Regions from separate parts of the Homo sapiens genome. Here region 2 is linked to region 1. The links are contacts of gene promoters, found by promoter capture Hi-C in blood cells and fetal thymus (Javierre and others, 2016). All regions are on one chromosome and are shown on one strand. The core of a region is centred on a gene start or on the middle of the fragment in contact, and the rest is flanking DNA. Distances in the headings are between cores, read along the strand shown.

Evidence for each region. The method cuts DNA at HindIII sites, captures the fragments that hold promoters and counts their contacts. A CHiCAGO score of 5 or more calls a contact.
Region 2: the fragment with the promoter of MAN1B1 here is called in contact with the fragment with the promoter of CCDC183 in region 1 in 5 of 17 cell types (naive CD8 T cells, total CD8 T cells, activated CD4 T cells and 2 more); the score reaches 7.3 in naive CD8 T cells.

Annotation. Positions count from the first base shown.
Region 1 is chr9:136,793,890-136,800,377 of GRCh38, forward strand. It overlaps CCDC183 (coiled-coil domain containing 183), which reads left to right and starts at 2,449. Exons shown (of 14, transcript NM_001039374.5): 1 at 2,449-2,578; 2 at 5,213-5,334; 3 at 5,824-5,901; 4 at 6,113-6,280. The coding sequence starts at 2,509. RefSeq lists enhancers at 1,870-2,371, 5,652-6,355 and silencers at 3,088-3,382, 6,092-6,268, 6,277-6,436, 6,447-6,488. The HindIII fragment of the contact is 12,043 bases long and covers 1-6,488 here.
Region 2 is chr9:137,084,355-137,090,842 of GRCh38, forward strand. MAN1B1 (mannosidase alpha class 1B member 1) reads left to right here and starts at 2,631. Exons shown (of 13, transcript NM_016219.5): 1 at 2,631-2,864; 2 at 3,721-3,829; 3 at 4,515-4,651. The coding sequence starts at 2,646. MAN1B1-DT (MAN1B1 divergent transcript) reads right to left here and starts at 2,463. Exons shown (of 1, transcript NR_027447.1): 1 at 592-2,463. UAP1L1 (UDP-N-acetylglucosamine pyrophosphorylase 1 like 1) reads left to right here. Exons shown (of 9, transcript NM_207309.3): 9 at 1-184. RefSeq lists silencers at 1,985-2,214, 2,765-2,994 and an enhancer at 2,555-2,784. The HindIII fragment of the contact is 12,458 bases long and covers 1-6,488 here.

The DNA of each region.
Region 1 (6,488 bases), core at 1,199-3,698:
GACAGGAAGCTCAAGTTGACAGTGGCTTCAGCAAGATGGAGCTTTATTTTTCTGTTTTTTGTGGTGTTGTCGTCGTTGTTTGGAGACAGAGTCTCGCTCTGTCACCCAGGCTGGAGGGCAATGGCGTGATGTCGGCTCACTGCAACTTCCACCTCACCAGTTCAAGCCATTCTCCTGCCTCAGCCTCCCAAGTAGCTGGGATTATAGGCACCCACCACCACGCCTGGCTAATATTTATTTATTTATTTATTTTGAGATGGAGTTTCACTCTTGTTGCCCAGGCTGGAGTGCAGTGGTGCAGTCTCAGCTCGCCACAACCTCTGCTGCCCGGGTTCAAGCGATTCTCCTGCCTCAGCCTCCCGAGTAGCTGGGATTACAGGTATGCGCCACCATGCCCAGCTAATTCTGTATTTTTAGTAGAGACGGGGTTTCACTATGTTGGCCAGGCTGGTCTCAAACTCCTGACCTCATGTGATCTGCCCACCTCGGCCTCCCAAAGTGCTGGGATTATAGGCGTGAGCCGCTGGGCACCGCGCCGGGCTGAGCTTTATTTTTCTTTCATGTAAAAGTCCAAGTGAGTGGTCCAGGGTTGACAGGGAATCGGGGACCAGGCTCCTTTCAGTCTGCTCCCTGCTGTAATGGTCTCTGTTCCCAAATCTGCCTCATGGCCCCAGGCGGCTGCACCAGCTTCGGCCATTGTGTCTTTATCTCATTTAAGAGGCAGGAGAGAGGGCAGCTTGCCTGCCACTGCTGCTCTCACTCTGTTGGCCTGAACGAAGTCATCAGGCACATCCAGTGCCAGGATGCTCAGGAAGGCAGAGTTGCTCTGGGCAGCCATGCGCCCACTAAAATTCAGGTGTTTTATATCTGAGGAAGAAGGACAGCAGGTAGGCTCTGCCTCAGCTAGATTCCAAGCCTGGCCCCCAAGAACGAGGGGGAGGTAAGCAGACCACACCCTTAGCAGGACATCCCAGCACCCTGAGGGTGAGGCCTGGGTGGGAGGGAGAGAAGGGAGAACCTGGAGTTTGCCTGGACTGGCTTTCCAAAAACAGTGACCAGAAAGGGAAGGGATCTATGTGACAGCACATGGGCAAAGGCCATTGTCGGGCTGGCTTGGGTCCCCCCAAATTTCTGTCCCCCAGGACCTCTGCATGTCTCTGTATTTGAAGACAGGGGCTTTCCAGAGGTCATTAAGGTAAAATGAGGTCATTGGGGTGTCCTCATAAGAAGAGGAAATTAGGACACAGACACACAGAGGGACGGCCACGTGAGGACACAGAGAAGACAGCATCTGCAAGCCAAGGAGAGGGGCCTCAGGAGACACCAGCCCTGCTGACCCGTGATCTCAGCCCCCAGCCTCCAGGCTGCTGTTCACATCCCCCAGTCGGTGGCGCCTTGTTTTTTTGTTTTTTTGTTTTTTGTTTTTTTGAGATGGAGTCTTACTCTGTCACGCAGGCTGGAGTGCAGTGACGCGATCTCAGCTCACTGCAACCTCCACCTCCTGGATTCAAGCAATTCTCCTGCCTCGGCTTCCCAAGTAGCTGGGACAGGCGCCCACCACCACACTGGGCTAATTTTTGTATTTTTAGTAGAAACGGGGTTTCACCATGTTGACCAGACTGGTCTTGAACTCCTGACCTCAGGTGACCCACCCACCTCAGCCTCCCAAAGTGCTGGGATTACAGGCGTGAGCCTCCACACCTGGCCAGTGGCACCTTGTTATGGCCGCCTGAGCCTACTAAGGCAAGGCTGGGAAAAAGTACCCCATCTCGTGTGTACCCCATCTCGTGCATACCCCACAGAGTTCCAGGCTGCCTGGTGCTCCAGGTACTCCCCTCTAAGGGAAGGGTGGAGGGGGTGCAGAGATGGAGAACATACCCTTTCTGGAGTGACACATGAACCCAAGACCCAGTAATTCCCAAAGGAAAGTGGGGGTGAAGCAGGGTGGGCTCCAGACAGCACAGAGAGGTCAGGGACAGAAGTCAGAAGAGATAAGGTGGGGGTGTCCCAAGAGCCAGGTTACCCAGTGCATGGAGTTTGGACTTGGGGCTGGGGGTGGGGGGTGCAGAGGGAGGTCCCGTAAGGCAGTATCAGAATAGTATCAGAATCGTTTTAGGAGGCTCGGCCTGCTGCTTTGTGGAGGATGGCTTGGGGCATGGGAGGGGCCAGGGAGGGAACCCAGTGCAGGTGTGAGCTGCCGGTGCTGCAGACCCATCACAAACCTCCCCCTCAAAGAAAGCACATCCGCCCGGCAGAGCTCCTAAGCCTCGAGCAGCTGCCAGGAGACTCATTTCAATTAGGACACATGTCTGGAGGCCACCCCAAGGTGGCTGGGGGCAGAGTGAGGCAGGAGGCCCTGCAATTCCAGGGTTGCCCAGGCACTGAGAATCCTGGCTCTCATCATAATGGGCTGAGGTTCTGGGGACAATCTGAGTGGCGGCTCTGAGCAAGCTGAGCCCAGGGAGGCTTTGAGGTACACAGGGTCCCTTGGGGGGCCTGAGAGCAGCCATGAGGAGGCACAGTGAGACAGATGTGGAAGAGCAGACCCAGGAGCTGAAGACCATCACTCAGCTCCAGGGTGAGCCTGCACCGCCGTGACCAGTCTCCCTTTCCCGTCTGGGGGTTTCTGGGTGCACAACTTTTTGTGGGGAAAAGAGAGATCAGATTGTTACTGTCTATGTAGAAAAGGAAGACATAAGAAACTCCATTTTGATCTGTACTAAGAAAAATTGTTTCTGCTTTGAGATGCTATTAACCTGTAACTTTAGCCCCAACTCTGTGCTCACAGAAACATGTGCTGTATTGAATCAAAGATTAATGCATTTAGGGCCGTGCAGGATGTGCTTTGTTAACAATGTGTTTGCAGGCAGTATGCTTGGTAAAAGTCATCCCCATCCTCCATTCTTGATTAACCAGGGACACAGTGCACTGCAGAAAGCCGCAGGGACCTCTGCCCAGGAAAGCCTGGGAATTGTCCAAGGTTTCCCCCCACTGAGACAGCCTGAGATATGGCCTCGTGGGAAAGGAAAGATCTTACCATCCCCCAGCCCGACACCAGTAAAGGGTCTGTGCTGAGGAGTAGTGAAAGAGGGAGGCCTCTTTGCAGTTGAGATAAGAGGAAGGCATCTGTCTCCTGCTCGTCCCTGGGAATGGAATGTCTCAGTGTAAAGCCGACCATTCCCATTCGTTCTATTCTAAGATAGGAGAAAACCGCTCTGTGGCTAGAGGCAAGATATGCTGGCAGCAATACTGCTCTGTTACTCTTTGCTACACTGAGATGTTTGTGTAACGTGAAACAAATCTGGCCTACGTGCACATCTGGGCATAGTACCTTTCCTTGAACTTATTCATGATAAAGATTCCTTTGCTCACATGTTTCCCTGCTGACGTTCTCACCACCTGTTGCCCTGCTACACTCCCCTCACCAAGATAGTAAAAATAATGATCAGTAAATACTGAGGGAACTCAGAGACCAGGGCTGGTGCAGGTCCTCGCATGCTGAGTGTGCCAGTCCCCTGGGCCCACTGTTCTTTCTCTATACTTTGTGTCTTTTTTTTTTTTTTTTATGAGATGGAGTCTTGCTCTGTTGCCCAGACGGCAGTGCAGTGGCGCGATCTCGGCTCACTGCAAGCTCCACCTCCTGGGTTCACGTCATTCTCCTGCCTCAGCCTCCCAAGTAGCTGGGACTACAGGCACCCACCACCATGCCCGGCTAATTTTTTGTATTTTTAGTAGAGATGCGGTTTCACCGTGTTAGCCAGGATGGTCTCGATCACCTGACCTCGTGATCTGCCCGCATCAGCCTCCCAAAGTGCTGGGATTACAGGCGTGAGCCACCATGCCCAGCCTCTGTGTCTTATTTCTTTTCTCAGTCTTCATCCCACCTGACGAGAAATACCCGCAGGTGTGGAGGGGCAGGCCCCCTTCACTTTTAGGGGATGTTTGTTTGGAGACAGAGTCTCGCTCTGTCACGCAGGCTCGAGTGCAGTGGCATGATCTCGGCTCACTGCAACCTCCACCTCCCGGGTTCGAGCGATTCTCCTGGCTCAGCCTCTTGATTAGTTGGGACATCAGGTGTACGCCACCACACTCAGCTAATTTTCGTATTTGTATTTTTATTTATTTATTTATTTTGAGACGCAGTCTCGCTCTGTCACCCAGGCTGGAGTGCAATGGTGCAATCTCAGCACACTGCAACCTCCACCTCCCGGGTTCAAGTGATTCTCCTGCCTCAGCCTCCCGAGTAGCTGGGATTACAGGTGCCCACCACCACGCCCAGCTAATTTTTGTATTTTTAGTAGAGACGGGGTTTACCCATCTTGGCCAGGCTGGTCTCAAACTCCTGACCTCAGGTGATCCATCCGCCTCGGCCTCCCAAAGTGCTGGGATTACAGGCATGAGCCACCGGCGCCTAGCTTATTTATTTTTTTGAGACAGAGTCTCATTCTGTCGTCCAGGTGGAGTGCAGTGGTGCAATCTCAGCTCACTGCAACCTCCACCTCCTGGGTTCAAACAATTCTGCCTCAGCCTCCTGAGTAGCTGGGACTACAGGCACACACCACCACACCCAGCTAGTTTTGTATTTTTAGTAGAGATGGGGTTTCACCATGTTGGCCAGGCTGGTCTCGAACTCCTGACCACAGGTGATCCGCCCACTTCGGCCTCCCAAAGTGCTGGGATTACAGGTGTGAGCCACCGCTCCTGGCCTAGGACTTTTAGTTTTAATACAGGGACAATCCAGGACATGGAGGGGAAAACAGACCCCCCTACTGCCCACTCCCTGACAGAGCTGGGAGAAGGGATCAAAGGGACCTGCATGGAGGGACTAAATCAGAGAGAGGGGCTTCAAGGAGACGTGAGCATAAGAGCAACACGGGCCCCAAAGCCAGAATGGACAGGAAAACACCCACCTGCTTCCATGGGCAGCAAATCTGGACGGGACCACAGGACCCTGCCATCCCTCTCCTTTGCCTCACCCTCCCCACCTGTCCACCTCCCCGCACCTGTCCACTGAGAGCCCTTCAGACAGCTGCTGCTGGGCAGTGGAGCGGTGTCCCCCAGGACAGGGCGGGAGGAGGGATCTTGGCCATGGAGGGGGCATCCCCCTGGACCCTGGGGCCTGGGGCCTCCCTGATGCAAGCCTCCCCCAGGGGATTCCAGGCCAGGCCCTTGGCCCAATCCTAGCCACTGTGTCCCCTCCACCTGCCCACAGAGCAGTGTCGGGCACTCCAGATCCAAGGGGTGAAAGAGAATATGGACCAGAACAAGGCCACGCTGGCCCTCCTGCGCAGCAACATCCGCCGCGGGGCCCAGGACTGGGCTTTGGCCAAGAAGGTACACAAACGCCGCCCCTCCCCTCTGCCTGGCGAGCAGGGCAGGAGCTGAGTACACACACACTCGGAGGGCGGGCACCTCCTCTCCACCCCCACCCCAATCTTTCTGGATCCAGGGGGCATGTGAGGAGGGGCTCTGCTAGGACCTGTGCCCTGGGCTCCAGTCACCCCAGCATCCGGTGGGCAGGTTTCCCACCACCCAACCCGAGGGCTTGGCATCTGTGAGCCCACATCCTGCAGCAGGGGCCCCCTCTGGCTCTCCGGCCAGCTAGGGGACACCCAGGCCCTCCTCTGCATACCCCCCTACCACGTCGCCTCCGAACTTGGATGGCCAGGATGGGGTCCCGCGGCTCTCTGCTCCTCGTGGAAGCAGGGATCTCGCTACTGGGCTAGCGTGGGATACAAGAGGCCCTGGGGAGAATGCCTGGAGGAGCCAGCGGCTGCGGGTGCGCAAAGGGCCCGCTCTAGCTCAGCCGCCGCCGCTCCGCAGTATGACCAGTGGACCATCTCCAAGGCCTGCGGGAAAAACTTGCCTTTGCGACTGGCGCACTGCCGCAGCACCATGGAGGTAACCAGGCAGGAGGGGCCTCGAGACCCAACCCTCCCCACCCCTGCCAGCACCCCCCCACTAGATGTTGCGGAGCCGACGAGGGACGGAGCAGGTGCCCAGCCCCAGGTTCCCTGTGGGGTTGCCACGAGCCTCCACCCGCCCGCCTGCTGGCGGGCTCCATGGCGGCCCCCTACGCAACCACGAGTGGGCGGTGCCCTTCCCGACCCAGGTGGTGCGGGAGAAGCTGCGCAAGTACGTCTTCGACCGCGTGAACATGCACAACCTACTGATCCACCTGGTGCGGCGGCGCGGGCAGAAGCTGGAGAGCATGCAGCTGGAGCTGGACAGCCTGCGGAGCCAGCCCGACGCCAGCAAGGAGGAGCTGCGGCTGCTGCAGGTGGAGAGGCGGGGCTGGGAGGGCGGGGCGGAGTCCACTGGGGCAAGACTCACGGGAGGGGCGGGGCCACCGGGGGGCGGGACTTGCGGGTCCCCTGGGGAGGGCTCACGGGAGGGGCGGGGCTAAGAGAGCACGACCCTCTCCGGAGAAAACCCAGCCCCGACACCCTCCGGGCGGCCGGTCCCCACGCCCTCTCACTGCGCCCTCG
Region 2 (6,488 bases), core at 1,381-3,880, 290 kb after region 1:
TAGTAGAGATGGGGTTTGACCGTGTTAGCCAGGATGGTCTCGATCTCCTGACCTCGTGATCCACCCACCTCGGCCTCCCAAAGTGCTGGGATTATAGGTGTGAGCCACCGCGCCGGGCCGGTTGCTGGCATCTTAATGTTCTGTAGGTGGAATATTTCCAATAAACACAAGGTGCCGTAATTGACTGCTACTCTGGCAAGTGCAGTTTTTGGGCAGTGCACGGGTGTTGGGAACAAGGATCAGGTGTTCACAGCTGTGTCCCAGGGCTGGAGCTCACTGGGGGCCCCCTTAGGGACAGGAGTTCACACATGAAGGCCAAGACTACTTGGGGTGCCAAGGAATCCCCCCGCGGTCCCATCCCACTCTTCACCAGGGTCTCAGGAGGGCCTGAGACAACCTGCGGTCAGGAACCTCGGGGCGCTCTCCAGGGCAGGCTTCTGCATGCTCAGCTCTGACAGCCTGGAGACTCGCTCTCCTGCACCTGCATCCTTGAGATGCCAAGGTTTCCCTGCTAACCACGTGAGGATGCTTGGGGTACTCCAGGGACTGACAAGAGTGAGTGGTGTCAACCTAAAGAGAAACTCAGGCTCTCCAGAATAAATGAATTTAATCAAGAATAACACATAATTGCAATGCAGAGTATGCAAGCCTCAGTGGGTCACAGGCATGTGGTGGGGGGGTGGGGTGGGGATTGAGGAAAGGGGGAATTTTTTTTTTTTGAGACTGGATCTCACTCTGTTGCCCAGGCTGGAGTGCAGTGGTGCAATCATGGCTCACTGCAGCCTCGACCTCCTGGGGCTTAGGTGGTCTTCCCACCTCAGCCTCCAGAGTAGCTGGGACCACAGGTGCACACCACCACACTGGACTCATTTTTTTATTTTTTGTAGAGACAGGGGTTTCACCATGTTGCCCAGGTTGGACTCCTGAGCTCAGGGGATCTGCCCACCTTGGCCTCCAAAAGTGCTGGGATTACTACAGGCATGAGTCACTGTGCCCCGCCCACGGGAAATTTCTTTTTTTTTTTTTTTTTTTTTTTTGAGACAGAGTCTTGCTCTGTTGCCCAGGCTGGAGTGCAGTGGTGCCATCTCGGCTCACTGCAACCTCCACCTCCTGGGTTCAAGGAATTCTCCTGCCTAAGCCTCCCGTGTAGCTGGGACTACAGGTGCCTGCCACCAACCATGCCCTGCTAATTTTTTTGTGTTTTTTGTAGAGACGGGTGTCTCACCATGTTGGCCAGGCTAGTCTTGAACTCCTGACCTCAAGTGATCCACCTGCCTCGGCCTCCCAAAGTCCTGGGATTACAGAAGCCACCGCGCCTGGCCCCAAGGGGAATCTTTTAAAAAAGAGAAGTTCCCATAAACTGCTTTGAAACCATAAAGACCAAAGGTTAGAAGGGTTTGCCGCAGGCGCTCCGTTGCTAATGTTTTTGTGAGGGCTTCTTCAGGGCCTCTTGTTAGAGTGTGACATAAACGACTTCATTTGGGTACCAGCAAGTGTCACAGGGGGCAGAGACCAGCAGAAACCTAAAGATGACCCCTAGAAGAGCAGGAGGCCAGGGGAACAGAGTTAGACGAGCCACGTGCTAAGCAGGACGTCGCTGCCGGGGGAGCTCTCCAGACACGCAGAAATGCCACAGTCAGGACCGTGGGACGCAGCGGATTCGCCCAAGGGCAGGAGCAGCCTGGCCAGGAGAGAATGAAGGAGGGGCCGGGCGTGAGGTTCGGCTGGGGAGAACCCAGGCAGGGAGGGCCTCGGGCGGCCACGGACGCCGCTTTGCCATTTTGGGCGTTTCTGGGGAGGACAACGCGTGCAGGAAGCGCAGTCATCTCAAGCTGACCTCCAAGGTTACCGAGTTCGAGGGCTGGGAGCCGGGTCTGAAAGCCCCGACCCGCCTATGGCGCGGGGACTGTGGGTCCAGCCGGCCGATTGGCCGCCTCGCTCGGCGCCGGTCCAGGCGCAGCGCTCGGGCCCCGGGGACCGTGAGATGCGGCGCAGCCAGCTTAGCTCGGGGTAGCAGCCACCCCAGCCCGGGTGCCGCCCGGCCTGGTCCGCGACTTCGGGAGGGTCCGGTCCTTCCCCCGGCCCCCACGCCTGGGTGAGGCCCTGGGCTTCTTGCCGGTGACCACGCGGCCAGGGTGGGCACCAGCCCAGGACGGCGCCCAAGGGCAGCCCAGCTCCATCCCCGCGCCGCGGGTTCCGGAACCGAGGCGCGGGACGCTGGGACTCTCTGCCAACATGGCGGCCCCGCCCGGGCGCCTCCCCGGGTCCCTAGTGTCTGCGTCTCCCGTGAGGGCGTGGGCAAAGTCGGTGCAGCCAGACGACAGGAGGCGAGAGAAGCCCAGCTCCAGGCCCATGAGGCGAACCACGTGGGAGCCCCAGACAGCGACCACGCCCCAGGCGAACCAAGGCCCGCCCCGTTGCTACAGCTACGCTCGTAGCACACCTGGGCAGGCGCTGCCGGACGCATGCGCAATGAACCTGAGGGCAGGGCGGAGTCGCAGCAGTTGTCTGACGCAGTCGCCGTAGGACGCAGCCCCGTACGCTGGAGCGCAGCGGAGACAGGCGCGGGCGCACTGGCCGCATAGAGACGCAGCGCACGCGCAGTCGCGTATCCGTGTGATGGGCGGGCTGTTGACGGCGCTGCGATGGCTGCCTGCGAGGGCAGGAGAAGCGGAGCTCTCGGTTCCTCTCAGTCGGACTTCCTGACGCCGCCAGTGGGCGGGGCCCCTTGGGCCGTCGCCACCACTGTAGTCATGTACCCACCGCCGCCGCCGCCGCCTCATCGGGACTTCATCTCGGTGACGCTGAGCTTTGGCGAGAACTATGACAACAGCAAGAGTTGGCGGCGGCGCTCGTGCTGGAGGGTGAGGGTCGCGCCGGGCTGACTGGGGCCCGGGGCTGCCGTGCCCGCCGCCCTCCCAGACTGCGGCTCCGAGCGGGACCTGGGCGGGCGGACTCGACTCCCCAGGCGCCGCCCTCTCCACCCCTTCCCCGCAAAAAGGGGCAAATGTGCGTTCCTGGTTGGGGCAGCCGTGGGCGGCTCGCCTGCAGCGGTCTCAGCGGCCCAAATTCTGCGGGGCGGTGGTGGGAAGAGGGCTCAGAGCCCCAGCAGGTTTTCTGGGCTTCGTTCGCTTTTCTGCAAGGTCCTGGCCCAGGCGCCTGCCCCTCTTGGAGCGGAAACCGGAGGTTCCCCGTGGTGTATGCTCCCCTCGGTACAGTGAGAAATGAGCCCCTCTTGATTGGCTCCTGGTCTGTTCGTGGTGGTCTCAGGCCGAAGGGCATTGATAACCACATGCGGACTGTGCATCGCCTGGGCGGTGCCTGGGCTACATCTGTGGGAGTCGCAGGAGTCTTTCTCCACTGTTGATGAAATGTGACAGAAATGTTTCTGCTTTTTTCTTATCCTCGTCTCATCTGCACCACTGTATTAACGACATCTGTAGTATTGTCCCAGCAATGTTCCTACTCCCTGCTGAGAGGGAACTTCTCCCCATTCAAAATAAATAGAGCTGGCCGGGCACGGTGGCTCATCCCGCGTTCCACCCACTACACTCCAGCCTAGGTGTAACAGAATGAGACCCTGTTTCCAAAAAAAAAAAGAAATAGAGCTGAACACTGGATCTTCCAGAAGAATTCCTTATTGTCCTCACAGTTTGTGACAGTTGAGACGTTCCGTGTGATATATTCAGTAAGAAATGTCATTCTCTGTACCTCCCTTAGAAATGGAAGCAACTGTCGAGATTGCAGCGGAATATGATTCTCTTCCTCCTTGCCTTTCTGCTTTTCTGTGGACTCCTCTTCTACATCAACTTGGCTGACCATTGGAAAGGTATCAGAAACACGTGTACTTGAAAACGATATCTGTGTTGAGGGTTGATTGGGCAGAAGCAATCTTGCATTCTACCTTAAACAGCTCCAGGAGGCATATATGGCAACGAATTGGCAAGAAATCAAGATAAAGAGAAAGGTAGAGCTGTATGTAACCACCTGGCTAGAACACAGATGTTAATTTGATGCTGTCTGACTACTTTCTAGGTCTCTGGTGTAAGTACTGATATGTCCAGCCTCCCTTATAGAGTAAGTCAGCTGGTGGGCTTGAACACTCAGCCTAAATAACCACACAAATTTCGTAGCACTCATTAGCGTGTGTTTGGAAAAGACCAGGCAGAGTTCTGGTGAGGATGTGGAGAATCTCTTCTCACTTGGTCTAAGATGCTTCTCTTTGGAGCAAAGCTAAAGGGCTCCTGCCCACCTGCCACATGCTGAACGTCCCTGAATGGAAAATAGGAAGGCAAAAGATGTGGGGTTCTGTGTTATGGACAAGGACACAAACTGCCAAGTGTTTTGAAAAAGATTTCATTCCCTTGGGACATTGTTGAATTCATTTCAGTGACTATCAGGTATCATAATGTTGATTTGTAATGGATAGTGCCTGCCAAGTGTTTTTATAAAGCAGTTTAAATCTCTTGTAGGCCTTGTGGCATATTTGAAATAAAATAGCTTCTGTTATTCAGCTCTGGCTTTCAGGCTAGAGGAAGAGCAGAAGATGAGGCCAGAAATTGCTGGGTTAAAACCAGCAAATCCACCCGTCTTACCAGCTCCTCAGAAGGCGGACACCGACCCTGAGAACTTACCTGAGATTTCGTCACAGGTACTTTGAGCAAATGGTGTGGGGTTATAACTGGGGTTCAATCCAGAGGCATTTCAAACCACTGAAGATTGAGAAGAATTATTTTCCTTTACCATTTATTACCACGTGTTTACCTCTCTCTCGTTTTGGACTGGTCGGATAATACTTGGGGAAAGAGAGGCGTAGTCTTTGCTTCATTCTTTTTGAAGACCAGCCATGGCCAGTTCCGGTTTTACTTCTGACTGTGCAGTGTTGAATAAGACAGACCTGTTTCCTCTCAAGAGGCCACAGCTGGTAGGAGAGGCTGGTGAGAAGCCAGGCACAGATGGGCAGAGGCAGATGGCACATGGTGTACATCCTATGTGGAAAAGAGCAGGGCGCTGGTGAAGAACAGTGGCTGGTCCTGAGGGTTCAGGGGAGGCCGTGGCACTGAGGGCAAGATCTGAGGGCTGAGAAGCTGCTGGCACCGGGCAAGGTGGGGAGAGGCAGACTTGAGCCTGAGTGAAACTGCCTGAGGCAAGGAGGACCTTGGCATATGCGGGAAGGTGAAATTCCCAGGGCTGGGAGAGGGAGCAGGGGTTGGCTCAGTCCAGCTGTGGTCCTGCAGGTCCTGGAGGCAGCATGGAGGGTCCAGTTGATGTATGCGGGAAGATTTTGGCGTGGACTGGAGGTCTGAGATGTTTACTGTGAAACTGCTCTGGCTGGGTGGAGACACAGTGGAGGGCAGGAGGCCAGGAGAGCTGCCTGGCCGTGGGAAAAGCTGAGTGGGGGGAGGAGTGCTCCGCAGGAGTGGGCCTTGGGAGAAGGAGGGTGAGTCCCCGGGTGGAGGGGCCAGCAAAGGCTGTGCAGGCTCTGGCTTGGGGACACTGAGGAGCTCCGTTTTGGATCTGCCCACTGTGAGATGTCTGGGAGGCGCCATGGAGACCTTGGTGGGCAGGTGGTGCCAGGATCAGAGTCTGCCAGGGGAGACAGGTTTTAGGAGTCCCTAGGTATAGGTGGTTTGTGTCCTCTGGAAACGTTGGAAGAAGGGGCCAGGCCTAGTCCTGGGCACCACCAGGCTGAGAAGATTGGGGTCAGGGAGGAGGGCAGGGGGAGTGGAGACTGGGGATGGGTCAGGAGGCAGCTGGAGAACCAGGAAAACGTCCTGTCAGTGAAGGTTTGGTTCAGGAAGAACAGCCAAATCCCCGACACCGTTGAGAACACCAGGGTGGTGCTGACTCTGGTGTGGCTGCTCGGAACCCTTAGAAGGCCCTTAGGGTGTTAGTTACTGTTGTTGGTACATCTGTGATTGTGTCTAGCAGGTGTGGGAGTGCCTTGGGAGCTTCACCTGTGGCCAGAGTCCTCAGCGCCAGGTGGACTTCCCTGCAGGGCTGTGACAGGGACAGACAGCGCTTTCTAACAGTGGCCTTGGGAGTGGTAACCTGCCGAGGAACAGCTCCTGGGCTGGGGAGCTGGAGGCAGGCTGCTGCCCACTGGCTAAGGATCTCAGCAAGAGGGGCATTGGGGCATTGGCCCCCATGAGCTTGGGCCACCCTCAGACTGCCGTGGGGGTGTTTTGATTTTTTTTTTTTTCGAGGCGGAATCTCACTCTGTCGCCCAGGCTGGAGTGCAGTGGTGTGATCTCAGCTCACTGCAACCTCCGCCTCCCGGGTTCAAGTGATTCTCCTGCCTCAGCTTCCCGAGTAGCTGGGATTACAGGCGCCCGACACCACGCACAGCTAACGTTTGTATTTTTAATAGAGACGTGTTTCACTATGTTGGTCAGGCTGGTCTCGAACTCCTGACCTCTTGATCTGCCCACCTCAGCCCCCCAAAGTGCTGGGATTACAGACATGAGCCACCATGCCCGGCCCTTTGA